2 separate regions of the Homo sapiens genome follow, and region 1 is linked to region 2. Evidence: promoter capture Hi-C in human tissues and cell types (Jung and others, 2019). All regions are on one chromosome and are shown on one strand. The core of a region is centred on a gene start or on the middle of the fragment in contact, and the rest is flanking DNA. Distances in the headings are between cores, read along the strand shown. Region 1 has its middle 89 kb from the start of SLC24A2. Region 2 holds the start of SLC24A2 (solute carrier family 24 member 2).

Evidence for each region. The method cuts DNA at HindIII sites, captures the fragments that hold promoters and counts their contacts. A contact is called where the count stands out against the background at its distance.
Region 1: a contact is called between a fragment that was not itself captured here and the fragment with the promoter of SLC24A2 in region 2, in 3 of the 25 tissues and cell types used here (H1 embryonic stem cells, heart right ventricle and spleen).

The regions. Positions count from the first base shown.
Region 1 is chr9:19,874,831-19,880,815 of GRCh38, forward strand. It overlaps a transcript of SLC24A2 not described here. Among named protein-coding and RNA genes, the nearest start is that of SLC24A2, 89 kb to the left of the region's middle. The HindIII fragment of the contact is 5,741 bases long and covers 1-5,330 here.
Region 2 is chr9:19,785,545-19,791,726 of GRCh38, forward strand. It overlaps SLC24A2 (solute carrier family 24 member 2), which reads right to left and starts at 3,493. Exons shown (of 11, transcript NM_020344.4): 1 at 3,341-3,493; 2 at 393-1,475. The coding sequence starts at 1,322. It overlaps LOC124902128 (a long non-coding RNA gene), which reads left to right and starts at 3,615. Exons shown (of 2, transcript XR_007061432.1): 1 at 3,615-3,734; 2 at 5,381-5,516. RefSeq lists an enhancer at 2,409-3,056. The HindIII fragment of the contact is 14,556 bases long and covers 1-6,182 here.

The DNA.
Region 1 (5,985 bases), core at 1,210-3,709, 88 kb after region 2:
ATTTGAGCAGAGGTATTGTTCTTCAATTTTTGTCTTTAAATTTCTGCCTACAATGAAACCTCTAAGGCTTTATTTATTCTCCTCAATTTACAGAAGCACTTCTAGCTTCAGAGAGTTAGCTTAGTTAATTTTGTTTTCTATGTCTAACTTTATCTTCCAGAATTACAAAAAAAAAAAAAAAAAAAAAGCTCAGCCAAAAGTTTTTGCCTTATGTATTTGTTTTTAACTAGCATTCATATGGTGACTTGATGCCTTCAATGGAAAGTTTACTCTTGCCTATGGGCAAAAGTATTACTGAGAAAACCAAATCATAAATGGATACCTTTGTGTCAGATTATACTGAACAAGCTTTCCTTTTCTCTCTCAAAGAACTGAAATTTCCTCCTGATGCTTCAATCAACTCTTTCAAGACTTGTGTTAAAAAATACCAGTGTACTTCTGCTTAGTAGATAACATTTTAATTTTGCTCTCATTTCTTCATAAAGTCATTTGAAAATGAGGTGGATGAAGCCCTGACTCTGACGAAATTGAGGACTTACTTTTAAGTAGATAATGACAAAACTTAGTTCAAGATGGTTGGCAGAGTCTCTAACTGAAAAGCATACCGATGAGGACAGCAATGAGTCATTATGACATACGGAGCCTCTTTGTTCATCAAAGCATCAACCCAGATGTGTTACCAAGTCCTGCAAGGGCTCCATCTGTGAGCGGAATATCAAGATTATCCTTATGGGGAGGTTTTCTTGGCAAAGAAACTTGTCACCATTTTGAAGACAGTGAGGGCCTTTGAGATTTCAAAATAGGGCTCAAGAAAGAGGAATTCTTTTATGAAGTACAGGCCTGCACCCAGCAGCTGAAAATCAGTTGTGAACTACAGTGAGAAATATAGTGGTTGCATCCAGTTGCATATTGAAAGGAATGATGAACAGCTGCCAATTCTTCTACGAATGTGCTTAAAATATGAGAAGAATCTGGGGCTAGATCATGTCACTTGAATGACACACTGCTTCAGATTCCTTTCTCTGTTTCAAGTCATACATTCACTCAATCATTTCCAAGGCACATGGATTAACCAAGGCTTCTCCAGTTGTGCATGGTAATGTGATAAGCAACCTTATCCAATACTTCAAAACAAAGTTTAATGTTTGGGAAAAATGCAAGAGTTAGTAGAATACCAACACTTTCTCCAAAAATATCCTCTATCTAATATACTTGCAGCATGTCAAGTCTTCCTTTAGTATTGTTAGGGCCAACAGATTTGATTATTAAAGCCAAATCAAAGAGCATATTAATATTATGCTTCTTGAATATTTTTCAATTTAAACCAGACAACACCTAAACATAGAAAGATTTCTGTAATTGTGAATGTGGTTCAGTGGCCACAAGGGCATGTTCAATAGGTAATAATAAGACATCATTACATGAATTAAAATCCTGAGGATATACAACAGTATCCCATGCCATCTCACATTTACTTAGAATGAGATAATATCTCAACATATGGATTGACATTAAAATGTATGTTTATTGAAGGCGTGTGTGTGTGTGTGTGTGTGTGTGTGTGTGTGTGTGTACATGTGTGCCAATTGTGGTAATTCATAGAATTCTTGGAAACCATATATAAGGGGCTATGTGAAGACCCTCTGGCTGAATTCTTTACAGCCTTCTTCTGGTTAAGTCAGATCAGCAGCAAATTGTGTAGTTAACCCATTTTAAATTGGCTTTCCATAGAACTGCTTTTACTGAATGATGATGTCTCCAATTTATAGTGAGGATCATTGTAAGAAATAGTTTTATAAAGCTTGTTGCTATGTTAACTAATAGATATTATGAAAGATGTTTTTATTACATTACACAGCTTTCTCTGTCTCGCTCTCTGTCTCTCTCATAGCCATGGGAAAAGTTAATTTTTGTCTTATGGGACACCTTGAAACACAAAGTGAGTCATGTTTCCTTCCACAAGGGTTGCTAGAAGATTTAGAACCATATTTGTGGTTCACCAAAAATATTGAGTCAATATTTTTGAAATCTTGATCTAAGTAAGTTCAAGCTGCTATTTTAAAGCTGCCAGCTGTTTTCTGCTTCATTTTTGAGAAGGACTATTTTCTTCATTAGGAGAAATATTTTCATTTGTCTTTTGCAAAGGTAAAGTCAAAAATTTTATTTCAGAATGGAAAACTTTGGACAATATGGGAGCTAAATTTCTCTCTATATTAATATGAACCTTTGCCTTTCTTTAGGGGACTCATGTCTGTGCAGATTATTACGCCATTGTCTGAAAGAAGGGCCTGAGACTGAGGGTGAGGGAAAAGTGATGTTCCTCCCTTTTTATTGGGCCCCAGTGAGGGCTGGGTTTCTTGACTTCCAAAAGGGAGGGAAATCAGAGGAAGAACAATTCTTCGGTGGGAAGCAAGCTGGAGACTGCCATTAGACTGAGTTTGAGGAAAAGGAGAGACAGGCTGGGAAGAGAGAGACTATGGAGGTCCATAGTTTGTATATGAAAATGGTCAGTGCCTCTAGAATCTGTAGGCTAAACTATGGAGTTTGGCTCCATAGTTTAGCCTACAGATTCTAGAGGCACTGACCATTTTCATAACCAATTTAAAATTTTCCTTTTCTTTGTGGCAACTTCTTTGTGATAGTTCCCTTACTTTTAGTAAAGTCATATACATTCCAGAAACCGACCTCAAGTGTGGAATTCCCTAATGTTTGGAGTGAAGGAGTATGGGAATGTAGTGGCAGTCAGGACAAAGCTGGATCTGAGATGGCCAGAAGTGACTTGCCCAAAGTAAGACAGCAAGCTGAGGAGGGAAGTAGCCCCCAAGATAGAACTGTGGCAGATGGAAGCTTTCTGCAGAGCTCCAGAAACACTCAGAGACAGGAACCTGGAGGAAGACTGGATTGCCTGTGGTCACCTGGAATGGATATTTGGATTCTTGCTTTGGATATTAAAGGGAACAGTGAAACACAAGGGCTGAAGTAACTGGGACTTCTAGGTTACAAGAGTGTACAACTTTGTGGCGTACACTTAATTTACACCTTCAACCCTGGTTCCATCTTATTTTCTCATCCTTATTTTCTTATTACTTATTCTTATAAATTTATGTATGTGCTTATTTAATTTTTTAAAGATGTGAATCTATGAGGCTTGGGGGTAACACCAGAAAGGGAAGATATTTTTGGCCAGAACTCATGGCCACAAAGGCAGCAGACCTGTTACCACCCTGTGCAGAGGCATTTTGGGCTCGATAGATCCAGAGTGCTCCAGTCAAGGGACAACAACACCTACTGCTCTTACTTTTTTTTTGGAATGAGCACAAAAATGCCCTTATCAGCAAGAAGACTTCTTATTGCCAAGCTGCCAGAATTTAGGCGGCTGCAGTTTGCAGCAATCCTGGGAAAACAGCTCCATAACACCTGGAGACTTTGAGGCCAATAGGAAATTGAAGCCCTTGCTGCTAGGGGAAGGATTGGATGCAGGTTTCCTAGTAGGAGTAGGAGTGGGGCCAGTTCCATTGGATAATCCAGGATGAGCACTTGGATTTTTAAAAAATTAATCCTGCTTATTACTCCATAACATCTTTAGAAATTATCTTAAGAAAGCAGAATAGAAATAATTAAAAACAAAATAAGAAATAGCATAATGATCATGACAATCTTTTATATGGTTTAGATTCGTGTCCCCACCCAAATTTCATGTAGAATTGTAATTCCCACTGTTGGAGGTGGGGCCTGGTGGGAGGTGATTGGATCATGGGGGTGGATTTCCCCCTTTGGTGCTGATAGAGTTCTTACCAGATCTGGTTGTTAAAAGTGTGTGGCACCTCCTCCTATCTCTCTCTTTCTCTTGCCCTGGCCATGTAAGACCTGCTTGTTTCCCCTTTGCCTTCTGCCATGATTGTAAGTTTCCTGAGGCCTCCCCAGCCATGCTTCCTATACAGCCTGTGGAACTGGAAGTCAATTACATCTCTTTTGTTTATAAATTACCCAGTTTCAGGTATTTCTCTATAGCAGTGCAAGAAGAAACTAATATAATCTCCTTCCCCTTCTCCCCCAGAAAACCCCCAATTATGCCACACATAGAATATTGTCTTCAAAATAATTCTCTCTAGAGCATGAAGACAACACTCCATAATTCAAAACATGTTGGACTTCTCTTTGGAGACCACCTTCAAAACCATGTACCACCACAGGAAAAAACTCCATCATTACCTTATTGCAATTAGACATTCTGTCTCAGTCTGCTAATCTTTATTCCTCCTTGTCTTTTTTTCTGTTGAATGCATCCCCTCCCACCTCTGTCCCTTCCTCATCTTTTACACAAGCAGTAGTAATATCCCCAGAGAGGTCATGCTGAGGCTGCTACTTGCAAAGAGCTAGAGATGCTGAAACACAGGGCTGTGAGGCCAGACAGGCTGGGAGTCAAGGAAGCAATTTGCAGCAACCCCGAGAGGAGACTGATGGTGGTAAGTTAATTTGTATGCAGTCTGCAAAGAGCTATTTTATAGCTGAGTGCTGTACGGGTGAATCATGGTAGGTTGGGATTGCTGTGGCCAGTCAAATTGCTTTGAATTTAGGAAAACCTATATAGAGCATCATATAAATACCTGGTGTAGTCATTATTACCTATTTAGTTTAAAGGAAATAGCAAGTTATTTTGGGTTACAATGGAACCTTGTTATAAAGACTTGAATGTTAAAATGTTGTTGGTTTTACATATCTGAATAGTAATTTTTTCATTTGCCTCATAGTAGTAATAGTAGTATCAGAAAATATTCTCCCCAAGCCAAAAATGCAACAACTGAAAAACATGGAAGAAAAAAGCCAGTAGGGGGCACGCTGATTAGAACTAAATGCTCTTGAGTCAACTCTATCACTGTTCCCTCCTCCCCCTAAGAAGTAAGAGTTATTTCAAATATGAATTCAAAAGTCAGCATATGGAATTTTTATTTTCTTGTTTGCTTAGAGGATATAAGTATTTGCAAAGTAGAATGAGTGAATTTTATAATAAAATTAGCAAGTAAATAATAATGTCTTTTATAATTACCTTGATCCCCTCATTTTTAAATATAAAAATGCCCTTTCTACAGTCCCTCTTAAACCTGGTTCTTAACATTTTCCTTGACTATCAAAATAAGATATTCTGAAAGGTAGACTAAAACATGAAGAAGTAAAAAAATAACAAAATAAAATGACCTATAAGAGGAGTTCCTAGAGTCAAAATCTACTTATGTTTTGATTTATTTTTTCCACTGTTTTCCTGTGTATTTCCCTATGACTATTTAAAAGTGTAAGGCAGTATTATAATGCAATTACTTTTTTAAAAGAGAATTTATGGCAATGTTGTGATGGCATGAGAGGTAGCATGATATGTGTTCTTCTTAGCCTGGACACAGCATTCCAATCCTTCCAAGAGTAAACTTACATTAACACATGGAGAACCAGGGAAGTAACTCGGGACTGGTTGGCATGCAACTTTTCATCATATAACTTTCAAAGTTATCATCTGATTGGGCTGGTGTACATCACCACACATGGAGCATCCTTAGTGGATGAAGGGATTTAACCTTTCTTATGTCCACTTTTACATAATTACCATTGGCTTGGACTCTGACCCTTGGGCCAATATGTCATGGCCACGGAAGTGGGGCTGCTTTTTCTTAGCACATAGTACAGTCTCAGCATATGTGGAATTTAGTTTATAAAGTCAATGTGAAAATCTAGGTGAGAGAAGTTGATGTGACTTAGGATAGTAGCTACAGAAAAGGTGAAAAAAGCAGTTGGATTCTTGGTATACTTAGAAGCCAAGCTAACATTATTTGCTAATGGGATGAGTGTGGGAAATGAAAGAAAGAGAGAAGTCAGGGATGGCTTGAGCAACTGGCATAGACAGGGGCCATTTACTGAAGGAGGCTATAGGAGGAAGAGATTGGGGGGATTGGATATGTTAAGTTTGAAATTCATCTTAACGATCAAACCAAAGAT
Region 2 (6,182 bases), core at 2,243-4,742:
TGTTCATTTAAAAAGAAAAGGCCTTGCAACTTTCTAGGCACATACACACTTTCCTATGAAAATTAAATTGTTCACAAAATCATTATGCCCACTTTCAGAAAATAAGAGACAAATAACTGCTGAATTGGCTTTGGGAGGCTTATGTAACCTATATTTACAAGTGTTTTACTCTGAAGCAAGTAGCTGAGGAACTTAGTAAACATCTGCAAGAATACCCCAAAATTATTTTTTCCACTGCTATGTTAGTCTAGCTATCACAGAACTGCAGAATCAATCTGCTATCCACAAGAGCCCCAAACACCATCACATCAAAAGAACTGCAGATCTCAAAAACATAATAATTCAGAACCGTAGTCAAGAAAAGCATTAAATAAAAATCCACCACCACCAACCTTTGCTTGGGCTTCTGGTGCTGTCACCTTGACGACCTTATTGCGGTTTATCATTTGCTTCACCCATTTTTCTACTTGGACGTTGAATTTCATGAAAACCACATAGCAAAAATAAGCTGTTAAGAGAAGCAAGCTTTCCCACCACATGATGACATTATCCAGGAAAAATATGATCAGCATGATCAAGTCAACAATGTAGAAAGACACATCTCGAAAGAGCGGCCACCATGTCAGGTTTAAGATTTCTCTAGAAAACAGAGCACACATGCCAATAACAAAGAGGATGTTGAATACTGCTGAACCTACAATTGTGCCTATGCCAACGTTGCTGTGAGCGATAAATACCCCTATGAGAGATGTGAAAAGTTCTGGGGCTGACCCTCCTGCAGCCATGAAGGTGGCTCCAGCCACATCATCAGAGATGCCCAGTTTTTCAGTGATGACAGTCAAAGAAGGAACAAAGAACTCATCACAGACAATGGCTAAGGCTATGAACATGTAGATCATTCCAATGACATGCAGAATGATCGCACCTTTTCTTCTCTCCTCAAGGGAAAAGATGTCTTTCGGGTAGTCTCCTTGGGCGTGATCTGTACTATTCTCAGACTCGCCTTCCTTAGAAAGAGGTGGCTGTGGAGTATAATCCAGAATCTTGTCATTTAAATCTAAGAGAGTTCTCTGATGGTAACCCTGTGCTACCCTAGGGCCACTTACAACACTGGCCTCTCCTGTGCTCTGTGTATCTGTCTCAGAAAAGGCACTGATTGAAAATGAGACAGTGCTAATGGCTACCAGACCCATGAAAAGGCCTAAGACTCGAATTAACTTCAGTTTTTTCTTGACACTATAATGTCTTCTGCAGCCAGACAGTGACTCATCCAAACACCATTTCTCTAGGGAAGTGATGGTGGTGCTTTGTTGCAGATCCATCCTGGGTCTTCTGGTGGATATGGTGATCTTCCAACTTTAGACTCAACCAGATGGTTCTTTCATACTTTTCCTTACTTTATAGTTAACGATGCTTGTGGGGTACTTTCACAATCAGGGATTGTTATGCTTCACAGGAAACTTTCATCATTTATGCTTAAATAAAAATAAAAACGAGAATAAGTAAATCATAAAATCACGTCTTTTTAATAAAGATCTTTGCAGATATGATAAAGTCCTGTCCTGCAGCTGTGCGATCTTGGGTAAGTTACTTAACTTCTCTGTGCCTCAGTTTCCTCATTTAAAATGGGGACAATTACGGTACCTACCACCCAGGATTGTTTTCAAGATGAGTAAAAACATATGTAGCACTTAGTATGGGATGTGGCACTTATGAAGATGTATGTATAAACCCAAATAAATATTTTGGTAAATCCAATGTTAGGTGCAGAGAAGGCAGATGTAAGAATAAAAATTTTACAGGTGAAAATCTATCAGATTATCTCACCTTAAATCATGTAATAACCTTCCAGTGCTATAAAGGTACCTAGACTTCTTTCAGAACTGTCTAGGTACTTGGCAACTAACAATTATTCATTGTTTACTTTTGGTCCAATTACATAATTCTCAGTTGTAGGCAACTTTTTCTGATTTAACCTATCATTTGGAAAGTGAGTGATTCTTTAATTTAGTGATCTTTTTTCTGCACACATAATGATATCAGATCTTATTTTTCATAAAAAGTCTCTCCTTTATCAGATGCGGGAAAGTAGTCCTTTACAAATTTAAGTTTACAAAAAAAAATTCTGGTGACATGCACAAGCTGCCTTCCCTAAACATCTAGACATTGTTTTCAGCTAAATATTTTTTTTAAAAAAACAACCTTTAGTCATATTTAAAATAGGCAGCTTAGTAAGTCAAAGAACTCCCAATGCAGTGAAATAACAAGTAGGCTATTTCGAGAGACCACATGTGTATTTCATAAACAATACGCAAGTTGTAGCAATACCTCTGTCCACAAAATCTGCCCAAAATAGCCCCACCACTGACTTTAATAGGTTAGATATCCAAAGCAGAGTTTTCTTTCTCTATCCCACGGAGGAGATGGGTAAAATAGCCAGACTTGACAGCTGATATTCTGAAGAGTTCTCTTTTTAGTTTTTCTTTAAAAAGACTATTCTTTTCCATATCAACGATTTCATTTTGGAGGCAGTCGCTGAGATAATCTCAGGTGTAAAATAAGCTAATTAAACACACGCCACTTAAATACTGAGATTAGCTGGAGCTCAGGTTTTCAGAGCAAAGCAAGAGCACAAATCAACCCCGCTGAGTTGCTGCTACTCCTGAGATAACCCGACCCCATCACGGAGATTCCCAGGTGGCTGCGAACGTCAACGCTTAGCAGGAACGATTAAGCGATTCACAGCACTCAGGGGATTGTGTAAATGCCCGGCCCGGGCGACCAGCAGGGACAGATTCAACTCCCCGGGCGCAAAGTCATCTCCAGCCCGATCCTCGCTCCCCCTGAAAACCCACCGCTCGTCTCCCCGGGAGCTGCCTCCGTAGGAGAATGTTCGCCCCCAGCCGCGCCCCAACTTTGCCTTGCGTGGTCCCAAACTTTCCCTGGTGGATTAATAGGAAAATAAATCTAAAGGACAGACGCCCCACCTGTGAGCTTGGAGCTGGGTTGCATTTGGTGAGGCGCTTGGCCCGCATCCCCCTGAGTCGTTTGTAGGTGGCTGGGGAATGGAAGCGCCCCTCTGCGCGTCTCCCCCGACGGCAGGCCCTGCCCCACGCCCCCCATCCCAAGCCAAAAGCAAGGGTAGGAGAGGCGGGGGCTCCAAATCCACGCCCCGGAGCACAGAGAGTTGGCTAACTCCTAGCGGGGCCTGGGGCGCCCACATCCACGGCAGAGCCACCTGTGAGCCTGCAGAGCAGCAACGGGATGCGCGCAACCGGGATGCGGGGACGACCGCCACAGCGGCTACAGCGGCAGGCGGGGCGCAGCCGCCCGCACTTACCAGGATAAGATGGGAGGACGCGCACACGGCGGGGCCCCCGAGCGCGGCCCGCCGCTCCAGTCCGCCGGCCCTCCGCCTACCCGCTCTGAGGCCCGGGCTCTGGCTCGCACTGGCTGCCGCTCTCGCCAGCCGGGCTGGGTTCGGGAGGAGACTGAGCCGCTGTGAGCCCGGCGCTCCGAGTCTGGCGCTGCCCGGCCCCCGCCGGCCCCTCCCTCTGGGCTGTGCGCTGTGCGCTGGGAGCGGGGCCGCAGCGCGCTCAGCTCCCGAGTCCTTTGCTCCACGCCTCCTGGGCGCAGAGGCGACGCTGGCAGCCGTCTCTTAGGAGATTTCTCCGCAGTGTGGACGGGGGTCAGGATTTGCAGGCGAGCAAGGGCAGAGAGGAGAAATCGTACAGGTCGGTGACGCGCCTAATTCACAAAGCCTGAAAGTGCTGTCAACTTTGGGGTCATCTTATGCTGGGCACCGCCTCTCCAATTATCTGCAAAAAGTGATAGCAGTCGCGCTTTTCTTTAGGAGGCGATGTGATGTGTAATGGTGGAAAAGACGTTCAATGAAAAGGCACGGAGGCCTGCAGGACAGGCTGTTGGGGTCCAGGGTTTCTTGAGTGTTGGATTTGGATGCTTGGGACACTGCAGGGGCTTCAGTCTTGCAGGGTGACCTTTCATTTCATGGGTGATGAAAGTGAGACCCAAAACCCCGTGTCATTTTGAATCACTGACAGGCTTCGGCTTTTGGCCTCGGGATGTCCAGCCCAGTGCTCCTTCCTGTCCTATCTGGAAAGCAAGATCCCCTTGACCACAAGAAATAGAATCAGGCTTGTTGGGGATGAGAGACTAGAATCTGGGCCAAAGAATGGAAGACGGTGGTAAGACAAATTGGTAGTGAGGGAACCCCTTTTACCCAACCCTGTGACCACCAGCAAAGCTGCCAAGAGGTACCCAACTCGTGAAGCTCTGAAAGCTTTTCGCACATTTTCCCCTCTCCTTACCCTCCATCCTTCTGTTCTCTCCCCCATCCAAGAGGGTTTCTTCATGCCCTCCTTACAATGGGGGTAATGGGTATATCCTGAGAGCTCATGACCTCTGACTTAGAGTACAGCTCTGTAGTCAGACCTCTGGGCCTACTCATCAATAAGTAAAGGGAAGCCTAGGGAACTTAGAAATATTTTTCTTCCCCCCACCCCCCAATCAAAGCCAGGCATTCAAGACTCAACTTTTCTTTTTCTTTCTCCTTTCGAGACTGAATCTTGCTATGTTGCCCAAGCTTGTCTTGAATTCCTGGGCTCTAGCCATCCTCCAGCCTCAGACTCCCAAGTGCTTGCAGACTATAGGTGCCTGACTGAATTTTTTTATCTTTAACTTTTAATTTAGAAAATTTCAAACATATACAAATGTAAGAAAGTAGTATAATGAATCTCCATGGGGCCATAACCAGCTTGAACAATTATGAACTCATGGACAGTCATATTTCATCTATACCCCTTTTTCCTATGTCATCATTTTGAAGCAAATCCCAGAGCATCATATCATTTTATCTGTAAATATTTTCAGAAAGCAAGAAAACTATCAACTACCACTAGGGTTGTGTCAAGAAGGGGACAATTCAAATAGGCTGTCACTGACCAAAGACGGGCTAATTTGAGCATCAAAAAAAAAAAAAAAAAAGATAATCGCAATTGTTTAAAACACATCAAACATGATTATATCTATTAATTGATAATATTTTAAAAACAACTGAACAGATTGATTGCTTGATGGTTCAGAGGGAACCAGCTCATAATTTTCAAAACTGTTTTAGGAAAAGGAAAACAATTGTGCATTTATTTTGCCTTTTCTATACAAATTGGACCTCTGGGTAACCAATTAGGCTTTATTTTTACCCTGCCTTTGTCTACTTTCCTAGTTTAACAATCCTATTCTTCCCTGAGGCAATAGGTGCCTCTGGCTACATGGGGTGCGGAGGGGAATATCACAATGTCTAGAAGAGTTTTTCTTATGTTATCTTCTAGAATTTTTATGGTTTCAGGTTTTTCCCCTACAGCTCAGAGATGACCCTGAGTCTTGATTCGGTGAGAAGAGGAATGAGATCCAGATGAAGACCTCATGAGTCCATAGATTGTATTGGCTGGGATTTGCACTTGGTTGCACATAATAAAAATTCATTCTTGGTGATTAAACCAAACAAGAATTTATTTTTCTCATGGTAAAAAGAAGTCTGAAAGCAGACTGCCCAGGGTTTATAAAATAGCTTCAAGATGCTATCTGGGAACCCAGATCTTTTGATCTGTCTTTCTTAATGTATGGCTTTATCCTCATGGCTACAAAATGGTTTATTCTTTTGCATTACATCTGTGTTCCAGGCAGGAAGAAGGGAAAGAGTGAAGGGTGAAAGGCAGAAGGCCTCCTTGCTAGGCTTTGTCTTTTTATTTAGGAAGGGATTCTGTCAATGCTTCACTTACATTTCACTGATCACGACTTGGTCACAAGACATAGCTGCAAGGGAGTGTAAACAGTATTTCAACTGAGCACATAGTCATCTTTTAGAAAATCAGGGCTCTCTTAGTAAGGGAGAAGGGGGAGATAAATGTTGTGGGAGTGACTACTCCTACACAGTTCCAAAGCATCTCAATGAGATCCATATTCGACTCAAGATTTGACAGTTGACCAAGAACTTGGCAATTAATTGCCACAACAGTTGAGAAGGCTACAACTTCCATCCTGGTAGTAATGGAGAAAAGCAGGGCCTGTCATTTGTCCAAATCACACTACGTGGAAGCAGAGGAATTGAATAACAACTGTAGGTCTCCCAGATCCACAGACCTTATTGCCTAGTCATAAAGAAA